Linked DNA regions of Homo sapiens: region 2 is linked to region 1. The links are contacts of gene promoters, found by promoter capture Hi-C in blood cells and fetal thymus (Javierre and others, 2016). All regions are on one chromosome and are shown on one strand. Each heading gives the region's core, a stretch centred on a gene start or on the middle of the fragment in contact. The rest is flanking DNA. Distances are from core to core; before and after follow the strand shown.

Region 1 (5,878 bases), core at 1-2,500:
CTCAAAGGTCTTTTGCCCCTGTAGTTAAAAGCCTAAAGAAGTCTTCTGATCACTGTGGCTGATAGTAATACATCTCAGTATTAATACAGACAAGTGACTACCTGTAATACAGGTCTTCGAAACATGGCTTCTATTTTCTTTTCTTACAGTCTAATCTTTAGGCTTTTCCTGAAGGAAAAAAACAAAATAAGAAAAAAACATTACCTCTTATGGCAAAAGTACAACTCACCAGTCCTAAATTCCTAACTATATTCATAATTTTTATGCACTCCAATTTTGTGACCACAACGTACCAACATTCCTGCACATCTGATGAGGATTCCTTCCTCCCTCCCAAATAAACTCACACCTGTATGTCTTTTTGGTCCCAAATAACTTCCTCTTCCTCCAACCCATCGACAAAATTTTGATTCTGAGTTAATCCCACTTCCAATCCACTGTCTTCTCAAATTTCATTACTATGCAAGCTCCCTTAGAGCAGAGATTTGTATCTGCTTTATTCACTGCCATTTTCTAAACTTCTAAAAAAGTTCTTAATGCATAGTAAGGCCTCCATAAATATTAGCATCACCAAGGGACTTATATCTGAAACCTGTTACTGAAAAATTACTGCCTTCATCTCCGTTAACAAAGACCAAGCAGCGTAGAGACCCCCGGGCTAGCCAGCCACACCATAGGGAGAGGTGGACACCCTTTACCGAAGATGGCGCCACCACCTGAAAACCGAGGAGAACTGGAAGGAAATCACGCGGTCCTCCGCACGACTGATGAAAGGGCCAGACACCTACACAGAAACACCTCCCGACCCACGCAGGATCACGCGCAGCCAAAACACACGACTCCAGCACTTCCTTCGCGCTGGCTATCCCTTCCTCCCTCACCTGACGATCTAACCCGAGCAGCCCAGCCACGCAGGGGATCACTTCCGGCGCACAGGGAACGCAAAGCTCGCCAGAGGAAAAAGGAAACAGAAACTCCGCAACTTGCGCCTTGGAAATACTGCCGGCTAGCGCTGCGGGAAACGGCTCCCCTTAACTCTGAAGTTCCGCGATCTTCTCTTTGTGCGCGGGCGGATGGATCAACGCCGCCAAGTGGTGAGTTTGGAAGGTTTCAAGTTTAGAAGGTTTCAAGTTTAGAAGGTTTCAAGTTTGGAAAGAAATGAAATTATGTGATGAGGTTTCTAACTGGGCCCAGGAGGGGGCGAGGTAGGCAAAACAGAGACTAGCTCTGCCTGGAGGGAAAAAAAAGCAACATTTGTGACCAGCCTAGGCGACATAGTGAGACCTGTCTCTACAAAAAATATATAATTAGCTGGGCGTGGTGGCGCGCGCCTGTGGTCCAAGCTTCTCCGGAGGCTGAGGTCGGGGGATCGCCTGAGCCCTGGAGGTCGTTGCTGCATTGAGCCGTGAACGCACCACTGCATTCCAGCCTGGGCAACAGAGCGAACTCTATCTCAAAACAAAACAAAACAAAACAAGAAAAAGAAAAAAAGAAGAAAATTAAAAAAAAAAAGAAAGAAAAAGAACGTCCCAGGTCTGTTGAAGCACTAAGAAAAGCAGAAAAAGAAAGGGGAGCCAGGGAAGGGCTGGCAGGCTGTGCAATTTAAGGGAGCACCAGAAAAACTGGCAATCAAATAATATATTAATGTAATATTTTAAAAAGTAAAAATTAATGCAGGAAATCCGGGAGGAACAAAATAAGAGTCATGTGTACCTTAACAACAGGGTAAGGTCTGAGGATTGCGTCATTAGGCGATTTTGTTGCTGTACGAACACCACAGAATGTACTTTGACGACCTAGATGGTGGAGCCTGGACACACCTCGGCTCTGTGGTGTGGCCTGCTGCTTCCAGGCTGCAAACCTGACAGCATGGGGCTGTACTGAATACCGCAGACCATTGTAATTCATGGTAAGTATCTGTGTGTCTAAACATATGTAAACATGGAAAAGGTACAGTACAAATGCGGTATAAAAGATAAAAATGGCACACCTGTATGGGGCGCTTACCATGAATGGAGCTTGCGGAACTGGAAGTTGCTGTGGGTGAGTAAATGAGTGAGTGGTGGCCCAACATGAAGGTCTAGGACATTATTGTACCCACTAAACACTTCATAAACACTGTACACTTAGGCTACACTCAGTTTATAAAAAATACTTTTCTTCCTTTAATAAACTTTCACTCACTATAACTTTATAAATCTTCCAAATTTTTTTACGTTTTAACTGTTTTGTAATAACAATTAGCTTAAAACACACACTGTACCACTGTACAAAAATATTTTTCTTATATCCTTATTCTACAAGCTTTTTTCTACCTTTGCTTTTTTTCTTTTTTTTTTTAACTTTTTAGCCATTTTTTAAAAAAACTAAGACATAAACACACACATTAGCCTAGGCCTACACAGGGTCATTATGATCAATCTCAGCCTTCCACTTCCACATCTTGTCCCACTGGAAGGTTTTCAGAAGCAGTGACACACAGGGAGCTGTCATCTCCTATAACAGTGTCTTCTTCTGGAATCCCTCCTGAAGGACCTGCCTGAGGCTGTTTTACAGTTAACTTTTAAAAAATAAGTTAAATAATAATATAATAAAAAGTATAGTAAATACATAAACCAGTGACATAGTCATTATTAATATCAAGTAACACATGAGTAATACATTGCATTCTGATGTTTTAGCAGGTATGATGTCACTAGACGATAGGAATTTTTCAACTCCATTGTAATCTTATGGGACCACCTTTGTATATGCACTGTTGTATATGCAGTCTTTTTCCAAAACATCATTATGAAGTGCATGACTGTATTAAAATTTTAACTGAATACAGGATCCAAGCCAGACTGGAGCCTGAGGCACAAGGAAGAATATGCACCCCTGTGTATATGTGTACTTATGTATTTTTAAAAATTGGGGCTAGGAAGGTTAGTGGGGGGCTGGAGGGAAGGTGGGGATGGTTAATGGGTACAAAAAAATAGAACGAATAAGACCTACTATTTTCGATGGCACAATAGGTTGACTATAGTCAATAATTACTTAACTGTACATTTTAAAATAAGAGTGTTATTGGATTGTGTGTAACTCAAAGGATAAATTAAGATGATACCCCATCCCCCATGATGTGCTTATTTGACGTTGCATACCTGTATCAAAATATCTCATGTACTCCATAAATATATACACTTCCTTTGAACCCACAAAAATTAAAAATAAAGACAAAAACAAAAAAAAATGTTTAATTAAAAAAATTTTGGCCAGGTCCAGTAGCTCATGTTTGTAATCCCAGCACTTTGGGAGGTTGAGGGGGTGGATCACTTGAGCCCAGGAGTTCAAGATCAGCTTGAGCAACATGGCAAAACCCTGTCTCTGTAAAAAATACAAAAATTAGCCAGGCAGCCGGGCGCCGTGGCTCACGCCCATAATCCCAGCACTTTGGGAGGCCAAGGCGGGCCGATCACGAGGTCAGGAGATCGAGACCATCCCGGCTAACACGGTGAAACCCCGTCTCTACCTAAAAATACAAAAAATTAGCTGGGCGTGGTAGTGGGTGCCTGTAGTCCCAACTACTAGGGAGGCTGAGGCAGGAGAATGTCGAGAGCCCGGGAGACGGAGCTTGCAGTGAGCTGAGATCGTGCCCCTGCACTCCAGCCTGGGCAACAGTGCGAGACTCCGTCTCAAAAAAAAAAAAAAAAAATTAGCCAGGCATAGTGGTATGTGCTTATAATCCCAGCTACTGAAGTGGGAGGATCGCTTGAGCCTGGGAAGTTGAGGCTTCAGTGAGCCATGATCACACCACTGCACTCCAGCCTGTGCAACAGAGTGAGAGACCCTGTCTCAAAAAATATATATATGTGTGTATATATATATGTGTATATATATCAATATGTATGAATGAAATATGTGTGTATATATATCTCAATATATATACACATATATATTTTTGAGACGGTATATATATATCATCACACAAAATATATGTATGTATATATGTGTATATATATCAATATATATGTATATGTGTTATATATCAATATATATACACATATATTTCCAGAACATTAAAGTAGTTGAAGAAGTATTGAAAATTTTTAAAGTAGATATTGTAACAAGAAAAACCCAGAATTGCATTAATAAAAACCTTCCCCCAAACTGAGAGGAAGCCGAGAAACCAAAGATTGACCCAGACAAGTCCAGCTTGGCGAGTAGAGGAGTTTATCAGGACTTACATACAAGGCACTCCTGGATGGCAGCATGACAGCTGTAGAGATCCGCCTGGCCTCCCATCCCTAAGCTACTTGTAAGCTAATTTTCTGGCTTTTAGCCTACTGTGTGTGATGGAGCTGTTTTCTTTGGTAGGTTCTCAGATATTCTCTGGGATGTTTGGCTTCTCAAACAGCTGCTCTTTGGCTGGTCACCTTGGCCTTGCCACATGGCCTTCAGGATTCAGGCAGTGGACATACACTCTTTAGTAACCCGGGTGGGGGGGACCTGTTACACTACAGGTGTATTAAAATTCACAACATTGTTTTAAGTTTAAATATTTTATTTATGCCAAGATGGATGTAATATAACTTTACTTTTAATGGAAGTAAACTGATCAGTAATGTGTTCAAATCTGCTTTGCTTGTTTTGAGAGAATTGCCATGCCTTCACAATTTTTCTTGACCAAGTAACAACCTTAAATAATTTTAATTAACTTCAGCTTACTGATCTTGTCTTTATTTAAAATTTTGGTATTTTATTCATCATGAATTTTTTTCATTAGTTTTAATATTTTAAGAATATTTCATTAAAGTATCACAAATCTTGATTGCTGAGTTCCTTGGTGCCCCTTAAATTCCTTCTCATTTACGCTAACCCTGGGCCTAGTGGGAAAAAGGATGTATGGAGCCCCATAAATTGCAGAACCCACACCAGCGGGGGCTGCCCCTTCCACTCCTTCTCCTGGTCCTGGCACTGTCCAGACTGTGGAGAAAGAAGGTACCCACCATATTGTTCTAACAGGCAAATCACCTCCTCAGGCCTCTACCTAAAACCTTTCATCTGCCCATTTTTGCCATTTAGGGATAAAATCTTAAGATAGCTTCCAACACACACACTTTAACGCACTCCTGAAGGTCTTGCTCACCAGTTGGTAAACTGTATTTCTAGATGCTTACCTCCATTTTACTGGCACCTTCACAATGTTGAGCTCCTAAAACATACCATGTTATACTGCCTTCAAGCCTTGCACAGGAATTAGTAATCCCACACCCCACCTGCTATGTTACTACTGTCAATGACTTCCAATGATTTTCTCTTTAAAAATCCTGCTTCCACTTGAGGGGTAGAGTCAAATGAAAAACAATTCACCCTTTTGCCCAAAGTCAGTTTCTCCCTTCTAAGCTCCTTGTTTAATGGTACCAAGATTCTCCCAGACTTGAACTTTGTAATCAGCTTCATCTCTCTCTGACCACCAACATCCATTCACCTGTATCCAATCACTTGGCCCTAAAATTTCTTTCTTCATGATGCCACTAATATCTCCCTTTCTATTTGCATACTTTGGAGTAAGGAGTGTGGGAGAAGTTGTATAAAGAAAAATACAGAAAGCACCATGCAAATTGAAAACAGACAACCTGGAGCAAACTCTTACAACTTTATAAATAACATCTTAGTGGAGAGTCTGGAGTACTCTGAATTCTCAGACAGGAATTGCCAATACACATTCTCCCGAGATTGCTGGCTGGAGAGAGTCACAGTGCTGCTACTTCAGTTGTTTTTTCTTTGACAAAGAAAAGCATGATAAAATGTACACAGTTTTTTGATGTAAAATGTCATGGAGAAATTAAAGCATTTTCTTCTGTTATCAAATGGATCCCTCTTCCTAACACAACAA
Region 2 (5,878 bases), core at 1,616-4,115, about 20 Mb after region 1:
TGGTTCTGAGATAGTGAAGGAATTTCTCCAGTATTTAAATATATTCACATAACCAGTTATATAAATCCAAATATAAAACCAATCTCCAATATGTTTTAAGATGGCATTCACCATCTTTGTGAAAAGCTGAACATTACTAACAAAGTCTAATCAAATCATGTCTTTAGAAAGGGTAAACAGTGATAGCATTTACTGAATTGGATTACTATTAAAATTCAAAAAAACTGAACATATTCATTTAACTGCAAGCCAGTCTTAGTTTTACATCAGGACTGCCCAACAAAATATTCTGTCAGTTATTCATGATCTGAATTCTGGTGTGTGAGGTCTATTAAATTATGGTACACATAAAAAAGTCATAAGACATTTCTGTTTTGTAATAAATAAGGCAGTGGCCAATTATTATTCATTAGTAGCTTTTTTGAGATAAGCTATCAAGTCTGCTCTTTCTGCCTTCTTCTTAATGCTGGCAAAGATCACTTTGTTCCAGAGATGTGCTTCTTGGGATTCTCCAAATACTCCATCAGTGTATCCTCTCCCCAGGTGATGCCTTTGTTCTTAATGGCATCTGTGTAAAATAATCCAACGGCTTGACCTGTCTTCCATCCGAAGAGACCATGGAGATTAGGCCCAGTCCTGTGCTTGCCTGCCTTTTCCACAGTGTGGCACTGGGCACACTTCTGAATACAAATCTTCTTGCCTTTCTCAACATCATCCATATTTAATCCTCTCTTTTGTTGCTTGTGCTATGAAGGATGACACTCAGAAGCTGGATGTCACACTCTCTGTATATTCTTTTCGAGTCAACAAAAAAGTTGGGCTTTGAAGTTGAGCACGTGAGTTTGAATCTTAGCTCTGTCTGGTCATAGCAGAAGGACCTTGAGCAAGTTTCACTTTTCTCCGCTGTATTTATAGGATTATTGTGAGAATTAAATAAGTCTATATATATAAAGTGCTTAGAAAAGTGCCTGGTGCACAATAAGCACACAATAAATATCAGCTTTAGAAATATACATTATCAGTAGCTATTATTATATAATATAAATTATCGGTAGTTATTGTAATAGCCAACACCTTTGGCTTATACCTCCTGGAGCTGTAAAGCTCTGTGGTTTTATTAAGCTTAATCATTAATCCTGAATACTTCTCCTGGCTCCCCTACCTCCTGCCAAGTAAAAGTAGGAAGTTATCCTTACTCGTTTATAGGTGTAAGAACTGGCTGATTAACAGGAGTCCTAAAGAAGTGATTTACCAATGTTAAAAAAATTGAAACCCATATTAAGAAATATAATTTCTACTGTATCCAGGACATAGACACACAGACACTCACCCACACATGATGCTGTACAAATGTTTCATGAAGAATACTTATCCTGAATTTATGCTTTGAACTGTTTTTTTTTTCTATTTTTCAGTGAATCAACAGCAACAAAATGTTGGTTGTGACCCATTGTTATTAATTTCATTACCTACCAAAGGGTTCTAAGCTATATCTTATGGTCAGTGGAGAATAGGCTACTAACACATTAAACTTTATGCACAGGAATTGTTTCAGGTGTGGTGCTATAAGAATATGTCACATGTAATTTCCAATCTGGTTGGCTCGGTTACAGAGCAGATTGCTCTTTCAGAAATACACCGTGACCTCCCTACTCAAGAGGCTTCATAAACTCTTTCAGTGAGACATAGCAGTCTAGGAGAGGCATGTGTACAGTAAGTGTTATGATTTTTTGGTACTATAATAAGCAAAGTGCCTTTTTGTTTATTTGGAGCTACATGAAGCTAGGCCGGAATTCCAGCTTCATAACTTACTATCTTGTATTTTTGAGCAAGATATTTAAACTCAGTTTTGGAGTCTTAGTTTTTTGATTTAAGTAATACACAAATAGCATAATATTGGCACATGGAAGACAATGAGAATTCATTTCATGCTTTCTCCCCTGATCACGGATCACAAACTCCAGAATTCATAGTTACTATTAGTTTGTGTGTTTTATATTTTTGGAGGAAAGCTAAAATTTGGTAGATTATTAATTCTATATTAACACACTATAGTCAAACCCTATTTTTAAATGCAATTTAATTTCTGCAACCACTGATGATCCCAATATTCTGTCAAATACTAGGTAACAGTTATTCATTATTTTAGAATATGGATCTGAATTATGAAATAATTTTGCATTCTAAGGTCTTATGTAGTAAGATTTGGATTAACTTCCCAATTATCAACACAATTGTAGGAAATCTCCTGAGAAAAAATATTTCTAACGATTGTGTATCTTATAATTTAAAAAATAAACGTGACTTGGAAAATGCAAGGACTACTGTTCTTCTTGGGTGGTGCATTAAAGGTGATCAGAATTCTAATGACGCTGGACAGTAGGATTTTCAGAATCAGTTTCCTAGGGTTCAAGAAGTCAAACGGCAAATAACCCAAGGTCCTTGGTTGATCTGACCATCTCAGCTATCTCAAGATATATAAGATGACCTAACTGGCGCATCTCTAGGATGGGTGGGTCATTTAAAATGTTCTGCCCTTGAGGCTGGGATTTTGTGCGTGTAAACGGTGGGGAGACGGCGGTGACACATTTTTCTCCCTCCCGTAGTGCCACCCGGCGCAGGGCCGCTGCGGCGGCGGCAGCTCCCACGTGGCAAGTTCAGATTGTGCAGCGCCTGGCCGGGGGCGGTGGGCGGGACCGCAGACCCCTCCCTCCGCTCTCCGGCCCTTCCCTCTGGCCGGCCCGGGCGCCCGCTTGGTCCTCCACCGCCAGGGGGCGGGCGCGGCTTCCCGGCGGCGGGGGCCCATTGGTCGCGGCCGGGAAGCGTGGGAGGAGGCCCAGCGGCGAGCTGGCTTTCTCCTGGCCACTTGCCGGGGTGAGGGGCAGCCGGAGGAGTCCGAGAGGAAGCGGAGGCGCGAGCTGGAGGCGGCGGCTCCCGTCGGCCTCCGGCAGGACTGAGCGCTGGGAGGCCGGAAGGCGGGCGCGCGCGGCGGAGAGGCGGGCGGGAGGCCGGTGAGACGGCTGGGAGGCGGACGGAGCCGGGGCTCAGGTTCGGGGAGGGATGGAGGAGGCCGGGGAAGCCAGACGCCCACCTACGACTTCAGCCTCCGCGCACTGCGGTCACCGGCCGGGGGCGGGCCCCGGGCCCGGCCGCGTTGTCACGGCGTGTCCGGACGTTGGAGAGGGCGCAGGCGGGACTGGGGTCCCGGAGAGCCGCTGGCCGGGGTTCCCGGCCGCCGCCCCGGCGTGGGCATCCCCGGGCTCCGCGGAGACGGGGCGGCGTCTGCACCTGGCGCTGGCACTCGGCGCCCCGGCCTGGGGCGGGCACCTGGGTCGCATCTTCCCCAGGTTGGCTGTGGCTCGCGCCCCTGCAGCGTGTAGGCTGAGAGCTCCGAGAGGTGGGGACGGAGTTGGGTGTTGCATTCCAACTCCATAGGGGGCCGTTTTGACTCACTTGTAAAGTTTTAGTGTCGCCTATACTAGAGGTACTTTTGGTTTTTTACAAGCTATCCAGCCCTTTGATGTTTGGTGTCTCTTCTTTTTCTTCCTATTTGTTTGCTACTGCTCTCACAGCTCGGGACCACGGATGATGATTAGTGGCCCTAGATCTGAATATGTGAGTGACGGATTGGCAATTTGAGATTGAGAGCTCCAGCTGTTTTACTTGTGGGAGGAGCGGTTTCCATCATCCTCTACCTTTTTTTTTTTTAAGAAAAAATATTATTGCCTGTAATATAGAACTGCTATCTAATTGATAGGACTTTTCCTTTGTTTCTTTTTGGCCAACATGGTGAAACCTCGTCTCTACTAAAAAATAAAAAAATTAGCCAGGTGTATGTATCCATATATATATATGTATGTATGTATCCATATATATGTATGTATCCATATATATGTATGTATCCATATATATGTATGTATCCATATATATGTATGTATGTATCCATATATATGTATGTATCCGTATATATGTATGTATCCATGTATCCATATATATGTATGTATCCATATATATATGGATACAATGACATAAATAATATTAGATTGCTTACTGTGTACTAGGCACTGCCAAATGGTTTCGTGTGCTCATTTATTCTCACAACAGCTCAGTGAATAAGTCCCTTTATCTTTTCTAGTTTTACAGATGGAAATATGAACTCCCGAGAGTAAAGGTCAATGCTGATAGCAGAGGCCCCGACCCCTTGGACTTGTGGCCAATTTGCAGTTACGTTTTCTTAAGTCTTGGGAACCGTTACTATTAGTCATACAGTATCTTACAGAGTACCAGCAGATCTCTATTGAATTTAGAAAATAAAAGTTAATCACTTACTGAAAGCCATTTAACAAGAAATTGGCAGAATCAGCAAATCAGCATCCGGTTTTGGTCACTTCATCGACCTGTACCTCTTTCTAGAGGCTACTAGTAGTCTCTTGTGTTTCTTGGCTGTTTACCAATAAAGTCACAAGGTTTTCAGTTTTATACAGGTATTAGAAGCTTTGTTTCACAGATTCTTGTAATGTTTTCTCAACTCAATAAAGACTAGCATTTCTTCATAGGAAGAAATAAGAAGAGTTGGAGCCAATAAAAGGAGTTCAGTCCAGCAGTTCTCAACCTGAGGACCTCTCTGAATTACCAATGGGAACTTTGTAAGAGGGACACAGGACAGGTTCCTCAAAATCCTCATTGTAAGGGGCTTCTGTTTCAAAAGGGAGTAAAAATAAGACACTACTGGCTTAAAGTGACTTTAAAAATAAACTTAATGGATGTTTTATTACAATTACAGATTTTTAATGTGGATTGCTGCCTTAAGCATTGTCAACTAATCTTTCATAATTTATGAAGATACATTAAAAAGGAAAAGGAAATTGGAAAAGACAGCCAAAAGGCTAAGAGGCTATGGAATGGCAAAAAGTAATGTTCCCTGAGGGGGTATCAGAAGACTCATATATTTTCCACCATATATTTTAGGTTTTGAACGATTCATTTTTCAAAAATTTTTATACTCTTAAAAATACTGGAGTGCCTACCATGTACCAGTAATTGTAGATATCATGGATACTATGAATAAGACAGCCTGGGCACTCACAAAGCTACTTTATTTTCTCTAAAGCAGGGAATCTTTTTTATTTTTATTTTTATGCCCATTTCTTAAAGCTGAAAGGTGCAAGACCCAAATAGCAAAAGATTTTTATGTTAGCGCTGAGCTAGATAGATTTTTGTGCGACCTTGGTATAATAGCAAAAGTTTGTCTTGAATTTAGTCCAGAAGCGTCTCTGTTCTTGGGATCAGATGATCAGGATTTGAAGCATTGATTCTGTATTTAGTTATTTCAAGAGTGGCATTGACTAAATTACTTAATATCATGCAGTCCTTTTTAATCTGATTGAGTAGACTGAACCAGGTAATTTCCCAAAATCTTTGAACTTTTAAAAGGTTTTGTACTTTCTTTTAATGCAATTCTTTGAGACACAATCGGCTGACTTCCTCTCAGAGGAGGAAATTAAGTGTTGTAATACCCCTAAGTCTTTCCAGTGTACCCATTAATATTCTTTTTCTTCTTCATTGGCCTGCTCCATTTGATTGAAGCTATTCTTATATTTCCCTTATTTTTAATCTAATTTTGAAAATCCGCTATTCATGATTTTTCTAACTTCAGTGAGTTTTTTCTTCCAATTTTCTTTTTTAAATTAAATTCCTGTAACAGAATTTTTCATTTTATTTTTAAATTATTTACAAAGACAGGGTACCCCACTGTTCTGCAGACTGGAGTGCAGTGGTGTGATCATAACTCACTGTAGCCTTGAACTCCACCTTAGCCTGTGGAGTAGCTAGGTTTACAGGCATGTGCCACCACACACGACTAATTTTATAATTTTTT

The links. Contacts are between HindIII fragments. The CHiCAGO score rates a contact against its expected background, and 5 or more counts as called.
Region 2: a contact is called between the fragment with the promoter of FAM3C here and the fragment with the promoter of WEE2-AS1 in region 1, in 1 of 17 cell types (total CD4 T cells). The highest score is 6.0, in total CD4 T cells.

Annotation. Positions count from the first base shown.
Region 1 is chr7:141,733,414-141,739,291 of GRCh38, reverse strand. WEE2-AS1 (WEE2 antisense RNA 1) reads left to right here and starts at 1,250. Exons shown (of 4, transcript NR_199841.1): 1 at 1,250-1,909. SSBP1 (single stranded DNA binding protein 1) reads right to left here and starts at 934. Exons shown (of 7, transcript NM_003143.3): 1 at 882-934; 2 at 102-168. The coding sequence starts at 125. RefSeq lists an enhancer at 1,032-1,917. The HindIII fragment of the contact is 7,644 bases long and covers 1-1,345 here.
Region 2 is chr7:121,393,295-121,399,172 of GRCh38, reverse strand. FAM3C (FAM3 metabolism regulating signaling molecule C) reads left to right here and starts at 2,865. Exons shown (of 10, transcript NM_014888.3): 1 at 2,865-3,011. It also overlaps the pseudogene CYCSP19. RefSeq lists silencers at 2,501-2,560, 2,601-3,430 and enhancers at 2,658-3,242, 3,243-3,828. The HindIII fragment of the contact is 3,372 bases long and covers 1,125-4,496 here.